4 separate regions of the Homo sapiens genome follow, and regions 2, 3 and 4 are each linked to region 1. The links are contacts of gene promoters, found by promoter capture Hi-C in blood cells and fetal thymus (Javierre and others, 2016). All regions are on one chromosome and are shown on one strand. Each heading gives the region's core, a stretch centred on a gene start or on the middle of the fragment in contact. The rest is flanking DNA. Distances are from core to core; before and after follow the strand shown. Region 1 holds the start of AKTIP (AKT interacting protein). Region 2 overlaps GINS3 (GINS complex subunit 3). Region 3 overlaps CFAP20 (cilia and flagella associated protein 20). Region 4 overlaps TENT4B (terminal nucleotidyltransferase 4B).

Evidence for each region. Contacts are between HindIII fragments. The CHiCAGO score rates a contact against its expected background, and 5 or more counts as called.
Region 2: a fragment that was not itself captured here is called in contact with the fragment with the promoter of AKTIP in region 1 in 1 of 17 cell types (naive CD4 T cells); the score reaches 5.0 in naive CD4 T cells.
Region 3: a contact is called between a fragment that was not itself captured here and the fragment with the promoter of AKTIP in region 1, in 1 of 17 cell types (monocytes). The highest score is 5.8, in monocytes.
Region 4: a contact is called between a fragment that was not itself captured here and the fragment with the promoter of AKTIP in region 1, in 1 of 17 cell types (naive CD8 T cells). The highest score is 7.3, in naive CD8 T cells.

What each region holds. Positions count from the first base shown.
Region 1 is chr16:53,501,582-53,504,625 of GRCh38, forward strand. AKTIP (AKT interacting protein) reads right to left here and starts at 1,628. Exons shown (of 10, transcript NM_022476.4): 1 at 1,566-1,628. It overlaps LOC124903690 (a long non-coding RNA gene), which reads left to right and starts at 2,799. Exons shown (of 2, transcript XR_007065069.1): 1 at 2,799-2,839. RefSeq lists enhancers at 824-1,325, 1,326-1,825, 2,286-2,385 and silencers at 1,096-1,395, 1,656-1,725, 1,746-1,985, 2,706-2,795. The HindIII fragment of the contact is 2,307 bases long and covers 1-2,093 here.
Region 2 is chr16:58,395,398-58,398,441 of GRCh38, forward strand. The region is part of intron 1 of GINS3 (GINS complex subunit 3); the gene reads left to right. Among named protein-coding and RNA genes, the nearest start is that of GINS3, 4.4 kb to the left of the region's middle. RefSeq lists an enhancer at 1-541. The HindIII fragment of the contact is 6,974 bases long and covers 1-3,044 here.
Region 3 is chr16:58,123,758-58,126,801 of GRCh38, forward strand. The region is part of intron 1 of CFAP20 (cilia and flagella associated protein 20); the gene reads right to left. Among named protein-coding and RNA genes, the nearest start is that of CFAP20, 4.1 kb to the right of the region's middle. The HindIII fragment of the contact is 2,351 bases long and covers 289-2,639 here.
Region 4 is chr16:50,156,801-50,159,844 of GRCh38, forward strand. The region is part of intron 1 of TENT4B (terminal nucleotidyltransferase 4B); the gene reads left to right. Among named protein-coding and RNA genes, the nearest start is that of TENT4B, 5.0 kb to the left of the region's middle. The HindIII fragment of the contact is 5,097 bases long and covers 1-3,044 here.

The DNA.
Region 1 (3,044 bases), core at 378-2,877:
AAGGGTCAAAACTAAGCAACGTTTTCCTAATTTCTTAAACAGATCATGAGCAAACCATGTACTAAATGTCCCCAATCAGCAATAATTTGTCTTCTCTGACGAGCTTGTGACATCCAGGGACGTACCCAACCCAGGTCATCCATACCTTGCCAGTGCCCATTACTGCTGTTTTGTTTTCCAAGAGAAAATGCCACCCAGTAATTAAATCAGAGGAATGAAGATCCTGGCTCTTCTACTAGCATGGATAACATGCAATAAGTAACAACAGTTCTCCGCAAATCTGCCTTTAAAGGTGAGTATGACACACTGAATATACTTGAGATATCAAAAATGTGCGGGGGCATGTTCCCCTTTGGCTCAAATGAAGACACTGATTTTCAGATCTAGCAGTAATGTGCAGCACCCCAGTGTCCTCTAGGACACACCTAACACGGGACCGGATCCCTTGGGACACAGTGGTGTGCTCCACAACATACATTTAATGGGCTGGTGCAAACCTGTAAAGTCTCTTAAAGGTCTAACGCGTTAGGATTCTCTTTAAGAATCCAGTAAATTTTGTCCCCAGTTCTGCCTGTCATTAAGCAGGAGGTATTGTCTTCTGCTGCCTAACTTTGCTATGGATCTTTTAATCCAATGTTTCCAGCAGCAACATAATCACGAGAAACTGTAGCACACTTTTCAGGGTCTAGTCTAGGACAAGCACAGCATACATGTTCTGAGAGGAATGACATAGATGGAAGCAAGACATGTTACATCCTTGTCACTTGGAAACAATTTTAGAATTTCTGCCTGTTTGGCCACGGCTGCATTCCTTTACATCACCCAGCTGAGAAGTCTGGGTCTTCAGCCTGCGCGAATGACAGTGCGTGGCAGAGCTAAAACTAGGCTAAAACATGAGTGCTGCTGTTACTCTACATGCCACAGCGCACTCACATCACCCCGAATCGGACTTAAGAAATTACACGTTAAGAGGAGACAGAGCAGGGGCCAGAAAAAAAAAGATGAAAACGGCCCGGGCCAGGCTCGCTGGGGACAGCCGGGACCCGCGGCGGCCTCGGACCGGCACCCTCACCGCGGGCGGAAACCCGTCTCTGAGCACTCAGGGAATCTGGACAAACCTGTCTCGAGGTGATGCAAGGCGGGGGCCCTGTCCTGGCCTCGCAGCTAGCTCGATGCTGGCCCGGGAGCCGCGGGCCCCTCCAGTGGGGGGGCTCTGGGGCCCGGCGACGCCCCCTTAACCAGAGCTCGGGGTCGGGACCCGGCCGGGGAGGGCGGGCACGGGCCGGGGCGAGCCAGCTGGGCCCCCCTCTCCCTCGGGCCGGGCCAGCCCAGCTCCAGCCGCAGTCCCCAGCAGCAGTCCCGGGCTGCGAGGCGGCCAGCGCAGCAGGTGCCTGCAAACGCGCACAGGTGCCCGGCCCCGCCTCCGTGTCCCACTGCGGCCGCCGTCGCCGAGTCGCGAGCGCCTAGAAAGATGGACAAATGCCGGGCCCGTGGAGGCTGGCGGCCAGATTTACAGACACCTCAGCCCTCGCGTACCCACCAGCCTGCCGGGCAGTAAGCCTCACCCCAGTGCCTTCAATGCAGAGCTCCTGGCTGCCAAGCGCCGCCGCGGCCCGACAGCATCTCCCGCCGCAGCGCCAGCCCTGCCCCTGCTTGATCCCCGCCCCGCCCCACCCCGCCCTGCCCTGCCCTGCCCTGCCCTCGGCAGCGGGCTCCGCCCCCTGCTGCACGATCCTGGGGCCCGAGGCTTCCGCCTGGCCTCCCGGCGCCAACTGGCTCTCACACCTGCCCGTCAAAGACGTTCTTCCGGGGGCGTTGGGAAGAACACACTCGGTCCTGCAAATCAAATCACCCCGGTTTGGGTGGGACTGCACTTGACCCTCCCCTTACGTAACAGCGCCTGGGACGGCCTGTCAGTCATGGAAGTATCGGCCCCCCGGGGAGGGATGGGGCAGAGACAAACAAGCGCCGGGTCACAATTGGCCAGGGCGTCTGCCAGTCACCACGGAGACCTTCCCGGAGGTTTATTCGCACAGCCCACAGCGCAACCGCCATGCGCAGGGGCTGGGGCATACGCTAACGTCTGCAAGCCAAGCTTTTGGGGAGGGCCGGGCCGCGCGACTGCCCAGTGGCTCCCATCGCTAGGTCCTACTGCGTTGGGCGGCGCTGCGAGGCCCGAGGCCGCCACGTCGGGCCCACAGGGTACCAGGGGTCAGAAGGACACTTGGCGTGGCATCAAGAAACGCCCGTTCTCTCCATCAGTGCAGGAGCTGAAGGCTGGAGCTGAAGGGAGCTCAGCTCCAAGTGGGCCCTGGGCACTAGAGCAGCCAGAGGAGCTTTGTAAATCTGTGTGTGTCGGCCCCGACCTGCAGCATCCGAGTGGGGGCCGGGGGCTGGGGGGAGGGGGGAGGCTGAGGACCAGGAATCCACATCTGTCACAGTTCGCTGCTGATTCTGGCGCACACTGAAGTTGGAGAACCTCTCCCATAGCAACATAGTTCCTGGTCTTTTTTTTTTTTTTTTTTTTTAATTCACACGCTCTCATTTGGACCTCCCGTCTGCTTTCCCATGGAGGTCTCTCTCTGGCCTAATTCTGTGACTGCTGCCAGCTGCTTTCCAGGCCTGTTCTTACCAACGGTGCCTCCCCGTGGTTAGTCCGTCCAATCTCGGCACTCCACTTCCACACTTGCGCGACAGCCCTCTCCCCGCAAGCCCCTGCCCCTTTTCTAGACACCAGAGGCACTGACCTGTCTGTGACACCGCCTCAGTGTCTTACACTCAGAAGCCGCATTCTCTGGCCGGGTTGTTTGGTCCATTTTTGGTTGCCTCTGAGATTCTGGTAAGTGACTTATTAAAGGGCAGGAAGCCAAATTCTCCTGATGTTAATCCCAAGGGTTGGTTCTGAAACCCAGCTTCCTCCCCTAGCTGAAAACACTTCTGAGCCACTTCCTTTTGTCCCCTTAGGACACATTTAGGAATGTTATCATGCCTTTTAATACGAGTCTTAATACAGAAAGGCAGGCAAGCAGGAAATCCTTTTTTCA
Region 2 (3,044 bases), core at 141-2,640, 4.9 Mb after region 1:
AGGACAATAGTGGAGGGAAGGTCAAGCAGATAAACAAGTGAACAAAGGTCTCTGGTTTTCCTAGGCAGAGGACCCTGCGGCCTTCCGCAGTGTTTGTGTCCCTGGGTACTTGAGATTAGGGAGTGGTGATGACTCTTAACGAGCATGCTGCCTTCAAGCATCTGTTTAACAAAGCACATCTTGCACCACCCTTAATCCATTCAACCCCTGAGTGGACACAGCATATGTTTCAGAGAGCACAGGGTTGGGGGTAAGGTCACAGATCAACAGGATCCCAAGGCAGAAGAATTTTTCTTAGTACAGAACAAAATGAAAAGTCTCCCACGTCTACTTGTTTCTACACAGACACAGCAACCATCCGATTTCTCAATCTTTTCCCCACCTTTCCCCCCTTTCTATTCCACAAAGCCGCCATTGTCATCCTGGCCCGTTCTCAATGAGCTGTTGAGTACACCTCCCAGACGGGGTGGTGGCCGGGCAGAGGGGCTCCTCACTTCCCAGTAGGGGCGGCCGGGCAGAGGTGCCCCTCACCTCCCGGACGGGGCGGCTGGCTGGGCGGGGGGCTGGCCCCCCCACCTCCCTCCCGGACAGGGCGGCTGGCTGGGCAGAGGGGCTCCTCACTTTCCAGTAGGGGCGGCCGGGCAGAGGCGCCCCTCACCTCCCGGACGGGGCGGCTGGCCGGGCGGGGGGCTGACTCCCCCACCTCCCTCCCGGACGGGGCGGCTGGCTGGGTGGGGGGCTGACCCCCCCACCTCCCTCTTGGACGGGGCGGCTGGCCGGGCAGAGGGGCTCCTCACTTACCAGTAGGGGCGGCCGGGCAGAGGCGCCCCTCACCTCCCAGACGGGGCGGCTGGCCGGGTGGGGGGCTGACTCCCCCACCTCCCTCCCGGACGGGGCGGCTGGCCGGGCAGAGGGGCTCCTCACTTACCAGTAGGGGCGGCCGGGCAGAGGCGCCCCTCACCTCCCGGATGGGGCGGCTGGCCGGGCAGGGGGCTGACCCCCCCACCTCCCTCCCGGACGGGGCGGCTGGCTGGGCAGAGGGGCTCCTCACTTCCCAGTAGGGGCGGCCGGGCAGAGGCGCCCCTCACCTCCCGGACGGGGAGGCTGGCCGGGCGGGGGCTGACCCCCCCACCTCCCTCCCGGACGGGGCGGCTGGTCGGGCGGGGGCTGATCCCCCCCACCTCCCTCCCGGACGGGGCGGCTGGCCGGGCGGGGGGCTGATCCCCCCACCTCCCTTCCCGGACGGGGCGGCTGGCCGGGCGGTGGGCTGACCCCCCGACCTCCCTCCCGGACGGGGCGGCTGGCCGGGCGGGGGGCTGACCTCCCCACCTCCCTCCCGGACGGGGCGGCTGGCCGGGCGGGGGGCTGACCCCCCCACCTCCTTCCCGGACAGGGCGGCTGGCCGGGCAGAGGGGCTCCTCACTTCCCAGTAGGGGCGGCCGGGCAGAGGCGCCCCTCACCTCCCGGACGGGGCGGCTGGCCGGGCGGGGGGCTGACCCCCCCACCTCCTTCCCGGACGGGGCGGCTGGCCGGGCAGAGGTGCTCCTCACATCCCAGTAGGGGTGGCCGGGCAGAGGCGCCCCTCACCTCCAGGAGAGGGCGGCTGGCTGGGCGGGGGGCTGACCCCCCCACCTCCCTTCCGGACAGGGCGGCTGGCCGGGCGGGGGGCTGACCCCCACCTCCCTCCTGGATGGGGTGGCTGCCGGGCGGAGACGCTCCTCACTTCCCAGACGGTGTAGCTGCCGGGCGGAGGGGCTCCTCACTTCTCAGACGGGGTGGTTGCCAGGCAGAGGGTCTCCTCACTTCTCAGACGGGGCGGCCGGGCAGAGATGCTCCTCACATCCCAGACGGGGCAGCAGGGCAGAGGCACTCCCCACATCTCAGACGATGGGCGGCCGGGCAGAGACGCTCCTCACTTCCTAGATGGGATGGCGGCCGGGCAGAGACGCTCCTCACTTTCCAGACTGGGCAGCCAGGCAGAGAGGCTCCTCACTTCCCAGACGGGGTGGCAGCCGGGCAGAGGCTGCAATCTCGGCACTTTGGGGGGCCAAGGCAGGCAGCTGGGAGGTGGAGGTTGTATCGAGCCGAGATCACGCCACTGCACTCCAGCCTGGGCACCATTGAGCACTGAGTGAACGTGACTCCGTCTGCCATCCCGGCACCTCGGGAGGCTGAGGCTGGCGGATCACTCGCGGTTAGGAGCTGGAGACCAGCCCGGCCAACACAGCGAAACCCCGTCTCCACCAAAAAAATACGAAAACCAGTCAGGCGTGGCGGCGCGCGCCTGCAATCACAGGCACTCGGCAGGCTGAGGCAGGAGAATCAGGCAGGGAGGTTGCAGTGAGCCGAGATGGCAGCAGTACAGTCCAGCTTCGGCTCGGCATCAGAGGGAGACCGTGGAAAGAGAGGGAGAGGGAGACCGTGGGGAGAGGGAGAGGGAAAGGGAGAGGGAGAGCTTGTCTAAATTTTCAATGGTATCAGTACAATGTTCAGAATTTCCTTTACTATCTTTTTAATGTCAGTAGGATTACAGTGGTGTCCTTATTTTTATTTTTAATATCAATAAATTGTGTTCTCCCTTTCTTGATTACCCTTGCCAGGAGTCTATCAATTTTTTTATTCTTTTAAAAGAACTAACTTAGGACTCTGTTGGTTTTCTCTTTTGTACCTTTGTTTTTTAGGTCATTAATTTTTTAATTAGTTCTTTCCTTCTACTTTATTTGGGCTTAATTCTCCCACCACACACACACACACAGATACACATTTTGAGATGGAAACCTAGGTCATTAATTTTTCAATCTTCTTTTATACATTCATAGCTATTCATTTCTTTTAAGTGAAATTATTCTATTCAATTCACAACTTTAATTGCGTTTCATAAGTTTTGATGTGTTATATTTTCATTATCAATGAACTAAAAATACTTTTTAGGCCAGGCATGGTGGCTCACACCTATAGACCCAACACTGGGAGGTGGAGGCAGGAGGATCACTTGAGCCCAGGAGTTCGAGACCAGCCTAGGCAACATAGTGAGTCCCCATCTC
Region 3 (3,044 bases), core at 214-2,713, 4.6 Mb after region 1:
CCCAGATGTCAAGGTAACATTAAAGAAACCCCTAATTTCTTCTAAGCTGTTGGTTTAGAAACTTACAAAAGCTTCTATCAGGAAACTGTATAGCCAGGAATACAGACCTTAAGAAGCTAATAATGTCAAGTGTGATAAGAAAGAAGTAAATTAACTTACCCTGAAGAGTTAAGGAAGGTCACTCTGAGAAAGGCCTTTGAACTGTGACTGGAGCCTAATGAAAAGATGGGAGTGAGGCTTGTGGGGTGGTGAGGGGCAGCGCCCAGCAGAAGGACCAGGAAGTGCAAAAGCTTGAAGGTGAGAGAACAGGACTTCCTTCAATTCAGTAGGAGGCTACTACTAAGAGGGGGAACCGGGTGAAGTGAGTCCCGCCTGGAGAACAAGTGAAGCAGGTGCCAGAGCATGGGTTATGTGGCCTTAGAGCCACATTAAGGGCTTAGGGCTGGGCGAGCCACGGTGCAACAACTAAATTCTTCTCATTTCAGGAGTCTGGTTTTACAGTACTTCCTATTCCTAGAAATCTGGATGGTGGGCTAAGTTCAAACATCTTATTTTAGTTTTGAGCAAATTCCTCAGTCCCTGCCATATTTAATTCTGTATGTCATTACTTATAAAGTACTAACTACAGTCATGCATTGCTTAAGGATGGGATTACGTTCTGAGAAATGCCTCATTAGGCAGTTCCATGGCTGTGTGAATATCAGAGTGTACTTACACAGACTTAGACAGTACAACATCCTACACACCCGGGCCATATGGTATAGCCTATTGCCCCTAGGCTACAATCTGTACAGCATACTACTGTACTGAATACTGTAGGCAACTGTAACATAATGGTACGTATTTGTGTGTCTAAACATAGAAAAGGTACAGTACTGTATAAACGATAAAAAGTGACACAACTGGATAGGGCACTGGCCATGAGTGGAGCATGCAGGACTGGAAGTTGCTCTGGGTTGAGTCAGTGAGTGAGTGGTGAGTGAATGTGAAGGCCTAGGACATTACTGAACACTTTGTAAACACAATACACTTATGCTACAATACATTTATTTTATTTAGTTATTTAGTTAGTGCTGGGATTACAGGCATGAGCCACTGTGCTTTAGTTATTTAGTTAGTGCTGGGATTACAGGCATGAGCCACTGTGCCTGGCCAGACTACACTAAATTTATTAAAAATATTTTTCTTTCATCAATAATAAATTAACCTTGGCTTACTGGAACTTTTTTACTTTATAAACTTTAAAAATTTTAAAAACTTTTAGACTATTTTGTAATAACACTTAGCTTAAAACACAATGTTCAACTGCACAAAAATATTTTCTTTCTATATATCTTTATTCCATAAGGTTTTTCCTATTTCTTTTTTTAACTTTTTAAACTTTTTTGTTAAAAACTAAGACACAAACACACACATGAGCCCAGGCCCGCACAGGGTCAGGATCATTAACATCAATCACAGTCTCCACCTCCACATGCTGTCCCACTGGAAGGTCTGCAAGAGCAATAACGCACATGGCGCTGTCATCTCCTATGACAACACTGCCTTCTTCTGAAATATCTCCTGAAGGACCTGCCTAAGGTTATTTTACAGTTAACTTTTTGTTCTTGTTGTTAAGTAGGAGTACATTCTAAAATTATGATAAGGCCAGGCACGGGAACTCATGCTTGTAATTCTAGCACTTTGGGAGGCTGAGGCAGGAGGACTGCTTGAGCATAGGAATTCAAGACCAGCCTGGGCAACATGGAGAAACCCCGTCTCTACAAAAATACAAAAATTAGTGAGGTGTGGTGGTGAGGGCCTGTAGTCCCAGCTACTTGGGAGGTTGAGGTGGGAGGATTGCTTGAGCCCAGGAGATGGAGACTGCAGTGAGCCCTGATTGCACTACTGCATTCCAGCCTGGGCAACAGCAAGACCTTGTCTCAGAAAAATAAAATACAATAAAATAATGATAAAGAGTATAGTAAATACATAAGCCAGTAACATAGTCATTTATCATCAAGTGTTAGGCACTGAACATCATTGTATATGCTATACTTTTACATGACTGGCAGTGCAGTAGGTTGGTTTACACCTACTCACAAACACGAGTAATGCATTTGACTTAACGAACAACTATTATGTCACTAAGCGACAGGAATTTTTCAGCTCCATGATAATCTTATGGCACCACTGTCATGTGTAAGGTCTGTCGTTGACTGAAACGCCATCATGTGGTGCATGACTACATATACTGTAACTCTGTTGCTAAGGACTTTATATACAGCTTCATTGAATCTTCATAACCGTGAGAAATAGACGAGAAAACTGAATGGTTAAGGACATAGCTAAGATCACACAACTGGAACACAGCACAGCCAGGATGCAAATCCAAGGTGTCTGACCACGCCCTAGCATTGAGGTTTTTCGGTAAGGTACTGTTCTTCTGCTTAAGGAACCTGCAGTCCAGTGGACGATCTACAATAGAAAACTGCCAGCCACAGGCACACCCATGAGGCTTAACTCAAGTTCTCAATGAAAAGAATGTTTAAGTTGAGATTGGAAGGATGAGATGGAGGGGAGGGGCTGTGAGCTTCAGAGAGTCAAATAAATTGCCGGTGTGACAAACACTAACGAACAAGCCATCTTCACAAAAGGGAAGCTTGCAAATTCACTGGTACTGTGAATACAGCGTTCACTTCTATGCAGACAGAGCCTAAACAAAAGTCAAACCAAATTTCTCAAGATTCTTCATAGAAACCGAACAGAAATTCTCTCTATATATACTCATGAAAGAAAACAACAAAGTTTTCTGAAATAAAAATAACTATAAATAGGTACCACAGTCAATATATACCTACTGGCAAAAGTCAAGGTCATGTCTAGCTAAATGTAGACAGTCCTCACCTCCCCACAAACTCTGTCCTTATTACAACTTTGCCTTAGTCCCTGGCAGCAGGAAAAATATTTTCTCTATCTTCCCAAGTCTACACAAAGCCTGTCACTAAGCTGTCGCTCAATAAATCTTTGATAAGTACATCAATTCCCAGTGTTCCCCCTACTGG
Region 4 (3,044 bases), core at 187-2,686, 3.3 Mb before region 1:
ACATGTCACCACACCTGCCTAATTTTTTTATTTTTACTTTTTGTAGAGATGGGGCCTCCATTTGTTGCCTAGGCTGGTCTTCAACCGGCCTCAAGCAGTCCTCCCACCTTGGCCTCACAGAGTGCTGGGATTATAGGCATGAGCCACCATTCTCGCCAGTATCCTTATTTCTTAACTTTAGAAAGTTTTTCTATTTTTAATATAGGTATTTAAAAAAATCTGAATTCAGAGTGCACCTCGATGTTATGCTGTTCTGAGATTAAATATACTAAAACTGTTACCATTGTTTTCTGAATTCTTAAGATGTGACTGATAGTTAGCTAATAGGTTAACACATTGTGGTGGTTCTTGGCCTCTGAACTGATAGTCCAGATGGGGAGAGGAGACCAGAAAGCATGTGAAAATGGACTAGAACCATGGGACAGCTATATAGTCTCTCGCAGCTGTCTTTTGTGTTCTCTGCTTCCACCAAATTGGTTGATTTATTTAGAATGCTGACCTCTTGCATTGCCTAAGTCCTTGATGTTTTTGGTTTCTCCTCTGAACTCTCAAAGGTACTCACTTCATGCTCTTGGTATAGCCCACTTATGTTTAACTTTCCTTTTATTATGTGTTCCCTCTTACACATGACATGGACATTTCTTTAATATGTAGAGTAAGATATTGGATTTCATCCTAAAGTCTTCAAAATAAAACTCTTGAGCTCATCATCTCAGACTTCTTCATGTACCCACAGACCAGGGATTTTGTTTGCTTTTTAAAACATTTTTTTATTTTGTGTTTTATTATTTTTAAATTTTAATTTAATTTTATGGAGACAGGGTCTCGCTCTGTTGCCCAGGCTGGAGTGCAGTGGTGTGATCTCGGCTCACTGCAGCCTTTGCCTGGGCTCAAGCCATCCACATGCCTTGGCCTCCCAGTGTGCTGGGATTACAGGTGTGAGCCACTGTGCCTGGCCTAAATTTATTTTTTTAATTTTTTTTGAGACAGGGTCTTGCTCTGTCGCTCAGGCTGGAGTGCAGTGTCATAATCATGGGTCACAGCAGCCTTGGCCTCCCAGGCTGAAGTGAACTTCCCACCTCAGCCTCCTGAGTAGTTGGGACTACAGGCGAGTGCCACCATGCCTGGCTCATTTTGGTTTTTTTTGTAAAGATGGGGTCTTGTCATGTTGCCCATGAAGGTCTCCAACTCCTGGTCCAAGTGATCCTCCCGCCTCCGCCTAGCAAAATGTTGGGATTACAGGTGTGAGCCACCATGCCTGGCCTTATTTATTTATTTAATTATGAATGAATGAATGAATTAATGAGAGGGAGTCTTGCTCTCTTGCCCAGGCTGGAGTGTGGTGGCACAATCTTGGCCCACTGCAACCTCCGTCTCCCAGGTTCGAGCAATTCTCCTGCCTCAGCCTCCCGAGTAACTGGGATTACAGGCGCCCGCCACCATGCCCAGGTAATTTTTGTATTTTTAGTAGAGATGGGGTCTCACCATGTTGGCCAGACTGGTTTCGAACTTCTGACCTCAAGTGATCTGCCCACCTTGGCTTCCCAAAGTGTCAGGATTACAGGCATGAGCCACCATGCCTGGCCTGGCCTTTTATGTTTTAAGTTGCTTCCACTGATTCTCTTGGGCTTTGCTCCCCTCCAGAACTGGCCATGGTTTAGGATGCTGTCCACCTGCTGCTGCTTGTCCATGAAAACGAGCCATAAACCCTTTTCTTTTGAAAGACTTAATTGTTTATCACTATGGAGAAAGAGGGGATGGCAAGAAGTAGCAAATACAGGGAATTTGCAGAACTTGGTCTTGAGCCCTGGGTCCAGAAACTTCTTCTGGAAGGTGCTTGGTGTTTGTCCAAGCTCATGATAGGTTTCTGTTGGCTGTACTGCCAGATCTGTAGATGCTTTTTTAAGGCTTGGATGACTTGTTCAAAACAATGTTTTGGAGTACAAATTTGGCTGTGGGGACATCAAGACCTTGTTGGGAAACTTGGGTTTAAGGTACAATTTCTTAAACTAGGATGGTGGGAATGGGGATGTGAAGGGAGAATGAATGTGAGAGGTATTACAGGGTAAGGATGGAGATGATTCAGATTCCTTAAGTGGATTTAATAATCACACTGTAGCTTTGAACTTGAGTGACTGGGGAAATATTTGTGGTGTTTTTGGAAATAAGGGCCAGAAGGACTATTGGTTTGGGTAAGAAGATAGTAGGGGGATGTATAGGTGGACCTGCTAGTGGGGAGCTGAGATTTGGAGGGCTGAGATGTAGTGCTCTTCACTGCCGTAGGGCAGTATCCTCTTGTATGTGCCATCCTCTAGTGCCCATTGTTCATCATGTCATAGTAAGCCCAAGATGTTCATGCCTTTTTTCAGCACTGCATTAGGGCTTATATCTGCTTCTCTTTCTCTCTCTCTCTCGCTCTCGCTCCCTCCCTCTCTCTCTCTTTCTGTTTTTTTTTTTTTTTTAGACGGAGTTTCACTTGTGTTGCCCAGGTTGGAGTGCAGTGGCGCGATCTTGGCTCATTGCAACCTCTGACTCCCGGGTTCAAGCAATTCTCCTGCCTCAGCCTCCCAAGTAGCTGGGATTACAGGCATGTGCCACCATGCCTAATTTTGTATCTTTAGTAGAGATGGGGTTTCTCCATGTTGGTCAGGCTGGTGTCAAACTCCCAACATCAGGTGATCTACCTGCCTCGGCCGCCCAAAGTGCTGGGATTACAGGCATGAGCCACCGCGCCCGGCCTCTCTCTGCTTATTTCTACACAGTGTTACCAATGAGATTGGTGTTACTGCTGGGCTCCAAAGCAATCAGACAGATTAAAGTAGATTGAATATGAAAGAATTTAGAGGCCTTTTTCCAAGTGATTTGTGCTCTATTTAATTTCTGTGCATTTGCAGATATAGCCCACAGTAATTCTTAGTGAACTAGAACCTTCAGGTTATTGAATTTTACTGATTTGGGTACTGACATGCGCTTTTAAGAAGACATTAGGTTTTCTATAGTGTAGATTGTACACTAACAATATAATTCATATTTAAGAATGTCTC